2 separate regions of the Homo sapiens genome follow, and region 2 is linked to region 1. The links are contacts of gene promoters, found by promoter capture Hi-C in blood cells and fetal thymus (Javierre and others, 2016). All regions are on one chromosome and are shown on one strand. The core of a region is centred on a gene start or on the middle of the fragment in contact, and the rest is flanking DNA. Distances in the headings are between cores, read along the strand shown.

Region 1 (5,856 bases), core at 1,239-3,738:
GCTTACTTACAGAGACCTCCCATTTAGTGAATATTCTGTGTGTGTGTGTGTGTGTGTGTGTGTGTGTGTGTGTGTGTGTGTGTATGTGTGTGTGTGTGTGAGAGAGAGAGAGAGGTTTTGTTGATTGCCTACCATGTGTCAAGTACTTTACACATACCTTATCACCCAATTTTCCCACCTGCCTTTTGAGAATTATCCCCAGGTAACAGATGAGGAAACTGAAGCTCAGAGAGGTCATGTGACTTGCCCAAGGTCACACAGGCAGTTGGTAATAGAGTTGGGATTAATCTCAGGTCTGCCTGATTTCCCAGCCCTGGGTCTTCTCTATATGATGGGGGGCATAGAGGTGTGGGAAGATATCTGGGAAAAAGAAGCTTAGAAAAGGTATTTGTATGTGTGTCGAAGTTCAAATCATGGAGTGTGCTTTTACCTTTATTATTCCTCACACCAGCTTCCAGGCCAGGAGGATCTGAGGCCGTCTCCCTTCCATCCTTCCTCCCTTCTCCTACATCCTGATAATCAATTTTCTGTATTGTCACCCAGCCTTGAACCAAACAGCAAACCCTCCCCAGTGATTTTTTTTTTTTTTAAGATAGAGTTTCGCTCTGTCACCCAGGCTGGAGTGCAGTGGTGCGATCTCAGCTTACTGCGACCTCTGCCTCCCAGGTTAGAGCAATTATCTTGCCTCAGCCTCTCGAGTAACTGGGATTACAGGCATGAGCCACCATGCCCGACTAATGTTTATGTTTTTAGTAGAGGCACGGTTTCACCCTGTTGGTCAGGCTGGTCTTGAACTCCTGACCAAACTCCTGATCCACTAGCCTCCACCTCCCAAAGAGTGGGCATTACAGGTGTGAGCCACCGCACTTGGCTGCCTCTCCCATGATCTATTTTTGGGTCCAGGGAAAATATGATCAACAGGTCCCAGGACCCATTATTCCACTGGTTCTAGGCTCCTGGAAAGGGAGAGTTTCAAAGCAAACTCAGCTTCCTCTTTTCCCTCCTCAGGCTCAATCCCTTGTGAAGGCTCTTTCCATGTGTGTGCCTCCCTGGGCAAAGTCCAGCACACAGGCTTCTCCCTGGGAGTCCACTGATGTCAGCTGTGGTCACTAGGCATCAGGGCTTCTAGGAGGCAGCTAGACGCTTACAGAAGCAGAGGCTACAGGGGCCCTGCTAAGAGGAGGAACCATTCCCTTTAATTTTTCCAAACCCAGAATCCACCATTGAGCAGGCAAGAGCTCAGGAAGGAGACTCCCCGGTGAAGAGGCACGAGGACGCCTTTAGCATGAGCTGTGCTTCCTCCTTGGAGTTTTCCCACTGAGATTCCTGGGGCCAACACCAAACCCTGCCCCCAAAGTCCCTATTTCATTTTCGCCTAAGAATGAACCAGTTCCTTTCCTTGTCCTTAAGGTCCAGCTGAGTTAGGCTGACCATTTCAAAAAGAATTTGGGGAAAAACAAAAAGGAAATAATTATAGAAACTACAAACAGCATAAAAGTCGTCATGTCCAAAGTGCAGGTTTCAGATTCTGAGAATCCCATTAAATCCAGGGAAAAGCTCACTGAGTTCCACATTCTTTGATTCCCGGAAAACTCTTGATCCTGCTGGCGTAATTTACCAGGCGCCCTGCCTGCCCCTTCCCTCCAGCCCTGCCAGTCTCTGGCCATGTGATCTCCCAGGCCAGCTCAGGCCACTTTGCCATCTCAGTCCATCTTTCACCTTTCACAAGTCAACTCCAACTCTCCCAAAATGATAGCTTATTTTCTGTGTTTACCCCTAGACTCACTAAGCTCTCTCCCCCTAGTCACATCCCCCCTTCCATCTGAAAGGAAATAGGTTCACTGTCTTGAGGAGCAAAACATCCTTAGTTACCCAAGAGTGAACTTTGAGACTTTCAGCTTCACCTACTAAGGAGTCTTCACAAAATAGGACCCTTCCTCCAACACACATACCAACAAATGAACCAATGGGCTTCCGAAAGTCTACATTATGTATAATAATTCCTTTATACATTAACCTTCCGATCCCTTCAAAAGAGTTATTTTTCTTGTTGCTGACCAAGAAGAAATGCCGGGAGAAAACGCAGAGGACGCATTCCCTCTCATCAGCAAAAGGGTTCTATTTGCAAAGCAATATTCAAATAAGAAATAACTGCGGGCTGCTTTTAAGTTAACAATTGCAATCACAGAGAATGAGCTTCTGTCTCTATGCATGTCAGAGTGCCAAGCCCACAGAGTAGCTTCCTGTGAATTTGGTCGTCAATTAAAGTCATGATTGCTGGAACGTCACGACAACTAGGAGGCTCTACATTACCATGTCGCGACAGGTAGAAGCCCACAGTTACTACCAGCAGGAAAAGTCAGGGAATCAAAACTGAATATAGGAAATAAAATTGGGCGGTGCCTTCGCCTTCTACGAATCTTGACTTACTCGGGCTGCCGTCGTTGCCCTGGGATATCTGAAGACGCCGTTTCCTGCGCGTCCTGTATCTATGGAGACGGCAATATGGAGGCGATGTAAGTTCTGAGCGTTAGTCCCAAGGTCCCAGGGTCTCAGGGAGCGGCGCGAGTGGCCAGGGAAGGTATCTGTCCCGGGAGACCCTATCCTTCGGGAAATCGTGGCCAGAGGTCCCCTCCATGCCCTTCAGAGAGCCCCATGGGACTGAGTCTTGGGCGAGATCAATCAGACTAAGGATCCCGAAGAGAAAGAAGAAACAGCTCTAAGTGTATTTTGTCCCCCTTTGTTTCATCTATTTCTTTCTCCCTCGACTCTATACGACGACCTGCCACTTTTTCTAGTGGTCATCTTGGAGATTTTTAGATCAGCAATTAGGCAAATAAAGGAAGCTCATGATATATATTTTTTAAAGTCCTCGAAATTGGAAACTTCAATTTAAAACAAAACAAATCCAAAACAAAACAAAAAACCTCGCTTGCCCAGTCTCTTCACAACGACTGCAGATGTGTGAGTCTTTTGGAAGAATAGTGCAGGCTAGTGGGAAAGTTATGGTTGTTAATTACTATAACGTGTTTGTTTAGTGCTTTTTCAAATCCTCTGTTTCATTCGAGCTGCACATCGACTTTGTGAAATCGTCAGGATAACCCACATTTTACAGGCGAGGAGGCTGAGGCTCCGGGAGATGGAGAAATTTGCCTATCCCCGTAGAGTCTGAGAAGATGCTGGCACCCAGCGTCCCTTGCCCTGGGACCACTTCCCTAGCCCTATGACCTGTGTTGGACCAGCTTTCTACCCCATCATCTCTCATCTCTTCCATGCACTCTCTGGAATAGTTTCATGTGTTGAGTGGAGACTTTTTCAGAGCTCTGAGGCAGGAGCTGTCTGTACAGTCCCCTGAGGTCAGAGGCATTAATGAGTCAGGACAGGGCTGCAAGACCATCCCGTGGCAGAAAAGTAATGGACTCTCTCTGTGTCTCCTCAGCTTACATTTCTTTGATTTCATCTGAACGTCCAGTTCACAATTGGAGGTAGGAGCCTTGCCTGCCTTGTCTGGTGCCTAGCACAGTACCTGGTACATAATAGTAAGTGCTTTGTGAATGAACGAACGACTGAATCTAGATAGTCCCCTCCAGAGGGTTTAGACATGTTGCCAACTAGGAAAACCAGGGTCAACAGAATCTTCCGCTTTGGAAGGGTGTTGGTGGGTGGTGGGGGAGGGATAAGAGAGTGTCTGATGGAACTGTATAAATTCCTAAAGGGTGATCATGAAATTGTTTGCTAAATCTGAACACATTAAAATAAGGAACTAAACGACAAACTTGAAAAAGGATCATTTTAGGCCAAATAAATGGGCAAGTCACACGTAATCATAAACTGTTGTAAGAATTAAAATACCTGTAAGGGAGAATTGCTTGAACCTGGGAGGTGGAGGTTGCAGTGAGCCAAGATCTTGCCACTGCACTCCAGCCTGGGCAACAGAATGAGAGTCTGTCTTAAATAAATAAATAAATAAATAAATAAATAAATAAATAAAATCCCTCTAAGGACTTTACAACACTGCCTGGCACGTGGATTCTCAGTACATGTTAATAGACATTATTATTTTTGAGATTGTTATTTGAAGAAGTGAGGGAGGATACTGAGTAGTCTGAAAAATAAACATATGTTCAAAAAAGGTATTAAAGTGATGCTGTCCAATGTGGTAGCCAATAGCCATATGTAGCTATTCAGCACTGAAAATATGGGTAGTCCAAATTGAGATGTGCTGTAAATGTAAAATGCACACCAGATTTCAAAGTCTTAATACAAAATAAGAAAGTAAAGTACCTCAATAATTTCATATCGATTACATATTCAATGTAGTATTTTTGATATGATGGGTTAAATAAAATATATCATTATAATTAATTTTACCTGTGTCTTTTTACTTTTTTAATGTGGCTACCAGAATGTTTTAAAGTACACATGTGGATTGCATTATATTTTGGGGGGCAGTGCCATGTTCTATGATTTCATGCATGATGGCTTCATGTCAAGTGTAAAGGGAAATCAGAGATGAACCATTTGAGGTAAGTCATTATAGGGATCTGCAAACCACTTCCACATGTGCCTGAGTGGGGCTGGCTTAGTCTTGGTGTGTGAGTGTGAAAATTGCTGTCCTTTTGTCGAGGTAACAAAGTCACACTTGAGTGTGTGTGCTAAAAGAAGCCAGCTAAAGGAAGAGGGGATTCGAGGTGAGGGAGCCAGAGCTAGTCTGAGATACTTTGTGTGCCTTAGATTGAGGTCAAGCATCCTCTTGAGCATTTGGTGAAAACTGTGGCCATTCCTCCTGGAAAACAGACATGTATGCATACATAGCATCTGGCATATACATAGCATCTGGCATATATACAAATATATGTGCCACATATATTTGCATATGATTTCAGCTACAGTCATCGAGGATCCCTCTGCTCTGGAGATGGATTGACTTATGCTTTGATTGATTTATTTCAGTGATGTTTACCTTAACCGGTTGTAGACTGGTGGAGAAAACCCAGAAGGTGGAGAATCCATCAGTCTCATTTGCCTCTTCTTTCCCCCTTATTCCTCTTCTCCTAAGAGGCAAGAGTGTTCAGAAGAAACAAGCAGAGAGTAAAAGCCAGATAAAGGTAATGCACACACTTCAGTAACACCCACTGGAGCTTGCTGAGCAGTGCCAAGTGTGGCCATGGAGGGGCCTAGTGGGGTGGGCCTTGTCCCCAAGTCCCTCTTTGGAGTGCCTTCCCTGAGGGTGAGTCCCTGGGCTCCCAGGCAAAGCCCTGGATCTCGTGTACAGCCTCATTCCTCATGGTGCCAGGTAGCACCTGTTGCCAGAGCTGGGAAGCAGACCCTCTCCTCCATGACAAGGATGGCCATGAGAGTCTCCTCCCTCAGCCTCTCTTTCTCATGTCACTCCTGTCTCCTCTCCCCTCTGCTCTCTTCCCAGCTCCATACTCAGAGTGCTCCCTTTGGACTGTGTCCCAAGGACATGATGCTCACCCAGGCTCCAAGCTCCGTCGTGAGGTCCAGGAACAGCAGGAACCACACCGTGAACTCTGGTGGATCCTGCCTGAGTGCCAGCACAGTGGCCATCCCTGCCATCAACGACAGCAGTGCAGCCATGAGTGCCTGCAGCACCATCAGCGCCCAGGTAAGGATACAGCCAGGGCAGGCAGAGCAGGGTGTGGCAGGGCCAGGGCGGGGCATGGGTGGCAGGGCAGTGGGGTGGGAATCTTGAGAGGCCCTGACTCTTCCCTCTGCATCTGAGCACTAGACCTTGTCTAGACTTTCCTTGTCACCTTTCTTCCATGAGTCACTCAGGAAAGAAAATACTATATTGGCCATCGAACACACTCAGTAAATATTGAAACTGAGAAT
Region 2 (5,856 bases), core at 1,299-3,798, 100 kb before region 1:
AGGTGCCTGAGTGGCCATTTGTGTTTTGGGTGTTAGGTGGCTTGTGTGGTTGGAATGCCCTTTGTCTGAAAAAGTTGCCCATAGAAAGTCTGATAAGGCTTGAGATGTACTTAGGGAAGATGAGGGAAAAAACGGGGAAAGAACGTAAGAGGCGGAAGTGGACTGATTGATATTTATAAAACATCTCTGTTAAAGTACCAGGGATTTCATTTGGAATTCTCTAACCTTGGAAAGGTTGGTTGACCAGTTATTAAATTTTTGCTTGTTGAGATCTGGTCGTAAGGTCTGGACTGTGGAGGAGAAGGGTAGGCGTCATTACTTGTCTAGGCCCTTTCAGGATCCTGCAGGAGAGGAAGGTAAAAAGCTTAGGGCTACCATTTGGGGGCTGTCTTGTGGGCACAGTAGGTTGTGGAAAATCACAGTGTTTATACAAGGGGACTGGCAAAGGAATGAATGGGGAGTAGATAATTGTGGCCTGTCAGAAGCTCCTGCCTAGGTTTCCCTTCTAAGGATTGAGCTCAGCCAAAAGAAACATCTATTAAATGCCAAATAGGGAAAGTATTAATAATAGTGACCTTTGATAATGCCAGTCAATATTGATCTTCTCCTTCCCTCCCTCTTCTGTGACTTGTTGGTTGTACAGTTAGTACCTTAGTATTATTGCCCCATTTTCTTTTTTTTTTTTTTATTTTTTTTTGAGATGGAGTTTCACTCTTGTTGTCCAGGCTGGAGTGCAATGGTGCGATCTCGGCTCACAGCAACCTCCGCCTCCCGGGTTCAAGCGATTATCCTGCCTCAACCTCCTGAGTAGCTGGGATTACAGGCATGTGCCACCACACCCAGCTAATTTTGTATTTTTAGTAGAGATGGGATTTCTCCATGTTGGTCAGGCTGGTCTGGAACTCCCGACCTCAGGTGACCACCCACCTCGGCCTCCCAAAGTGCTGGGATTACAAGTGTGAGCCACTGCGCCCGGCCTATTGCCCCATTTTCTAATTATATATGTTACCCAAGTTGGTACTTTATCATGTAAGTAAATAATGCTATTATAATCTGGTATTATGTATAGATTATTTGTATTTCTTTATTGTCTTCTAGATTAATTTGTAAGCTCTTTGTGGACAGGGTCTGTGTCCCGTACCTCTTTTGAACCCTAAATTAGCACTTTTTAAAGGGCTAGGCATAAAGCAGGTATTCTTTATTTGGAACCTCCTGTTCTGCCTCTGTGCATTGACTGAGCTACAATGCTTGGGGTCTAAACACTAAAAGCAAAAAATGTGAGGTAGGTGCTCAGTCCAGGTACTGAAGCAATTGTAAGTCTGAAGAAGAAGGAAAACTTGTATTGCTAAGTCCTGAAAGAGAAAAGGTTTCAAGTCTTTTTGTTGTTGTTGTTGTTGTTGTTGTTGTTTTTGAAACGAAGCCTCACTTGCTCTGTCACCCAGACTGGAGTGCCATGGCACAATCTTGGCTCACTGCAACATCCCTTTCCCAGGTTCAAGCAATTCTCCTGCCTCAGCCTTCCAAGTAGCTGGGATTACAGGTGCGCACCACCACACCCAGCTAATTTTTGTATTTTTAGTAGAAACGGGGTTTCGCCATGTTGATCAGGCTGGTCTTGAACTCCTGGCCTCAAGTGATCCACCCTCCTTGACCTCCCAAAGTACTGGGATTATAGATGTGAGCCACCATGCCTAGCCTAGAAAAGGTTTCAAGTTTTTATGGGTAAAGAGAGACCGTTAAACCTAAACTTGTGACTAAGAGAGATTTCTTAGGCCGTTTTTCTCTTAGATAGCTTCCCCTGTCTATAAGTTTAGGTATCAAGGCTGGGGATAACATGCTGGTTCCCTGCCTCATCCCCTTAGTTAAACAATGCAAGGCTTGTTCTTAGCTCAGTAGAGAGGTCTCTTCCTGATCTAGTGCCTGCATACCTCTCCAGCTTGACTTCTTGACATTTTTCTCTGTGTACTTTATGCCTTAGCTATATGGAATGACTTTTAATTTGCCCCAATGCTGTTTCATCTTGTCTTTAGATACACATTCTTCCCATGATCTAGAATGTCCAATGTTCTGGCCTTATCTAACTTGCAAACTTCTATTAATCTTCTAGATGTCAGCTTCACCTTGTTTGGGAGACCGTTCTGTACTCTGCTTGTAAAGACTATTCTTCTTCCCTGCTACTATAGTACCTTGGATTATACCTCTGTTTTACCACTTATAACATTGTAATATTACTGTTTGTATGCCTGCAAGACTATGGCTTTCTCCTCCACTGATCTGTGGACTCTTTGAGGCAAGGACCATGCTGAATGCATTTCTATATCCCCAGCACTGTGCGTGGTGCCTACAGGTAGTAAGTCTTCAATAAGTTTGGATTAATATTTTGATAAGTCTATGCTAGGGGGATTTTATACAGATTATGACACTGTGGCCTGTGGATACAGTGTTGCTTTTTTTTGGCTGGAGTGCAGTGGGGTGATCTCGGCTCACTGTAATCTCTGCCTCCCGGGTTCAAGAGATTCTTGTGCCTCAGCCTCCTGAGTAGCTGGGATTACAGGTATGCACCACCACACCTGGCTAATTTTTGTAGTTTTAGTAGAGACAGGGTTTTACCATGTTGGCCAGGCTGGTTTTGAATGCCTGGCCTCATGTGGTCCGCCCACCTTGGCCTTTCAAAGTGCTGAGATTACAGGCGTGAGCCACTGCACCTGGCTCAGTGTTGCTTATTAGACCTATATTTGGGGTCTTCAGTTATTCTCATGGCTCATTTTGCAGCTTTGGATAAATCACTTCTCATTTATAAAATTAGAGGCTCATCGTTTTCATACTATGGGGTTGGGAGGAGCCCTGCGGAATTGAATGAGAAAGCATACAGAATTTAGGTGGCAGCACAGGAAGAGTATCAGTGTTTTGGAACCAGCTACTTCAAGAATACTGGTCCTGTAGGTTCTGGGTGGATCAACCTCATAGACTTGTAGAATTTTATTATATCTGGAAAGGAAGTGAGAGATAGGTAGTTGTAGTTACAGCTTTCTATTTTATAGATGAAGAAGTTGAGCCTCAGAGAGGTTAAGTGACTTGCCTAAGGTCATATAGCTGTAGCTTTATGTTTAGGACTTCTCACATTTCTTGACACATAGTCTAGGATTATCCCTGTTTTGTTTTGCTAGTTTAACTGGTTGTACACACCTGTTAGGGGAGACATAAGGGCTGGGGTAATATGGAATTCTTGTGACCTCTGGGGTCATTGCACTGTCCTCAGAATGTCCTGTATAGCTGCTGGAACTGAAAGGTTTCCTACTGGGGCTGTAGAACTTCTTATGACTACTGCATCTTTTTAGTTACTCTGCTTGCCCGGGGTCCTACAAACAGGACACAGAAGGGTCATGGGGTCACCCAAGACTGAACTGAAAGGATGTGCCATCAAAATAAGCAAGATGGAATAGGAAGATAAACAAACCAGGGAGAGAGCTCAAGATGAAGGCGCAGGGGGGCCAGGGCTGGTGTCAGAGGGCCATGCGGTCATTGCCTGGGGTCAGTTTTTAAAATTCTCATTGGGATTATTACTAGGCAAGAGGCTATAGACAATAAGGCACAGGGGACAGTAGGCCAGGCAGGTGGCTAGGATACTAAGGCTCGGGAAAATAAGAATTGAACAGGGGTTACTTCTCCCTATTTGGTCCTTTTGTTTTTCCACTCTGTCTAAGAGCCTCTGATTTCTCAATTCTGGGGAACCCAAGGAGCCAGTTGATAGTGGCCTAACTAGAGGGTGATACTGACAATATTGACTCAAGTCAAGCCTGGGTGGGATGCCTGTTGGCATGATCTTCATGGAGGCCAAGAACCCTATATAGGGCATTTTGTAGGACTGGGGGTTGAGAGGCATCTTTAGGAGTGAAAGAAGAGTCAGGGACTTAGGGACTGTTGTTACACGGCAGTAGGAACTATATGAAAAAGGAAGTTTAGGATGACTGGGCAGAGCCCACTCTCAGTCTAGTCCACTGGAGGGAGTTCCTTCCCCTGGCCCTGTCCATGCCTCGCTCTCTCCATCTGGTTGCCATCAGGCTGTGTGGCTGCTGGCGGGCTCTTTATTTATTTATCCCAGTGTAATGGGGTGAGGAGGGAGCTGGCCTAAGGCTGGCATTCCAAGGCCATGCCACTGAGCCACAGGCAGTTTGCATGGGTGTGTGAGTCACTGGGGCTGCATGCTGCTCAAACCAGACGCGGCCAGGCTCAGGGACAGCAGGCAGCCCAAAATAGAGCCCCGCCCTCTACAGCTGGCAACCCCTGGCTAGGAATCAGCCCTTGACACCAAAACCTGGGCAGTTGCTTGAAGTTGGCTTCCTTTGGTAGGGGTCCCTTAGCAGAGATGGAGATTTTGCAATTCTCTACTCTTCTCTCCTCTTCTCTTCTCTTCTCTTCCCTGCAGTCGTTCTTACTGCTGCATTCTGAATGCCTTATAAGTCTTAATCTGTTCAGTATAATACCTTAGCTAAGAAATTAGGGGGCTATAGTTAACATTGATTTGACTTAGCATCCTAAGTGCAGCCATGGTTGTTATATTCTGCCTAGTTTTAGTTACTGTCTTCAGCTCCTGTCTGGTTGCAGCCTGATTCTAGAGCAGATACTTTAAACTATGAAGAGAGTCACTGCTGCTCTTACGAAGCTAGAGCTTATATCGCCTGGGGAAGATGGGCAATGCTTTAACTTGAAAATTGCCATCTTGTTAAGCTTGTTCACACTTCTAATTGGTTTCTTTGGCTGGCTCTCCGTCTTCTGCCTGCCTCTTAAAGGTTAGTGTTTCCCAGGATCAGGTCCCTGATCCTCTGAGACTTCACTTTCCTTCCTCTGGGTCATCTCATCTAGACCCCAGTGTCAACTATTGTTGGTACATCGCTGAATACCAATTTTATATCTCCACTGTGTTTTAGGCCCATATTTCTTTCTGCATGTTTGGCATTTCCACCTGGATGTCCCACATAAAGCACATCCTAAACATGTCCAAAATGAATTATCTACTCCCCCAGACTATTTCTCTTATATTCCTTATCTTGGGGAATTATACCATCATCCATTCAGTTTTCTAAGCTAGAAATTTGGGAGTCACTCACTTTCCTCTTTGTCCTTACTTTCAAAGCCTAATTTATTGACCGTCTTTTGAATCTGCCTATCTTCTCTATTCTACCTCCCGTTGTCTGAAATTAGCCATTTTTCTCTCCCTTTTCCCCCACTCCCCCCCTGCTTTTTTTTTTTGAGACCAAGTCTCACTCTGTTGCCCAGGCTAGAGTGCAGTGGCACAATCTCGGCTCACTGTAACCTCTGCCTCCTGGGTTCAAGAGATTCTCATGCCCCAGCCTCCTGAGTAGCTGGGACTACAGGCTTGAGCCACCACGCCCAGCTAATTTTTGTATTTTTTGTAGAGATGGAGTTTCACCATGTTGGCCAGGCTGGTCTTGAACTCCTGACCTCAGGTGATCCACCTGCCTTGGCCTCCCAAAGTTTTGGGATTACAGGTGTGAGCCACTGTTCCTGGCCTTTCTGTCCCTTTTTTGGCTTGACCATGCAACAGCCTCCTAACTTGTCTCCTGGTCAGTTCTTATTCCCCTGCAGTTGAATTTGTAGTTTTGTCAGAGTGATGTCTTTGAAACTGAAACTTGATTATGACACTTTTTGCTCAGAGTCCTTTAGTGGCTCCCGGTTTCCTACAGGATAAAGTTCAAACTCCTTGCACGCCACACGTGATCATTTATGATTTGATCCTTTTGACATCTTCAGCCTGCTCCTCTGGCATTCCACTATAACATCTTTAAATACCACCTTGTGGATGAATCTCACATTTATTCTTCACTGTAGGTCTTA

What was found. The method cuts DNA at HindIII sites, captures the fragments that hold promoters and counts their contacts. A CHiCAGO score of 5 or more calls a contact.
Region 2: a fragment that was not itself captured here is called in contact with the fragment with the promoter of CFAP65 in region 1 in 2 of 17 cell types (total CD8 T cells and erythroblasts); the score reaches 5.2 in total CD8 T cells.

Annotation. Positions count from the first base shown.
Region 1 is chr2:219,038,148-219,044,003 of GRCh38, reverse strand. It overlaps CFAP65 (cilia and flagella associated protein 65), which reads left to right and starts at 2,488. Exons shown (of 35, transcript NM_194302.4): 1 at 2,488-2,516; 2 at 3,440-3,485; 3 at 4,954-5,108; 4 at 5,426-5,629. The coding sequence starts at 4,956. The HindIII fragment of the contact is 30,940 bases long and covers 377-5,856 here.
Region 2 is chr2:219,140,774-219,146,629 of GRCh38, reverse strand. All of the region lies in intron 5 of NHEJ1 (non-homologous end joining factor 1), which reads left to right. Among named protein-coding and RNA genes, the nearest start is that of NHEJ1, 17 kb to the left of the region's middle. The HindIII fragment of the contact is 4,364 bases long and covers 367-4,730 here.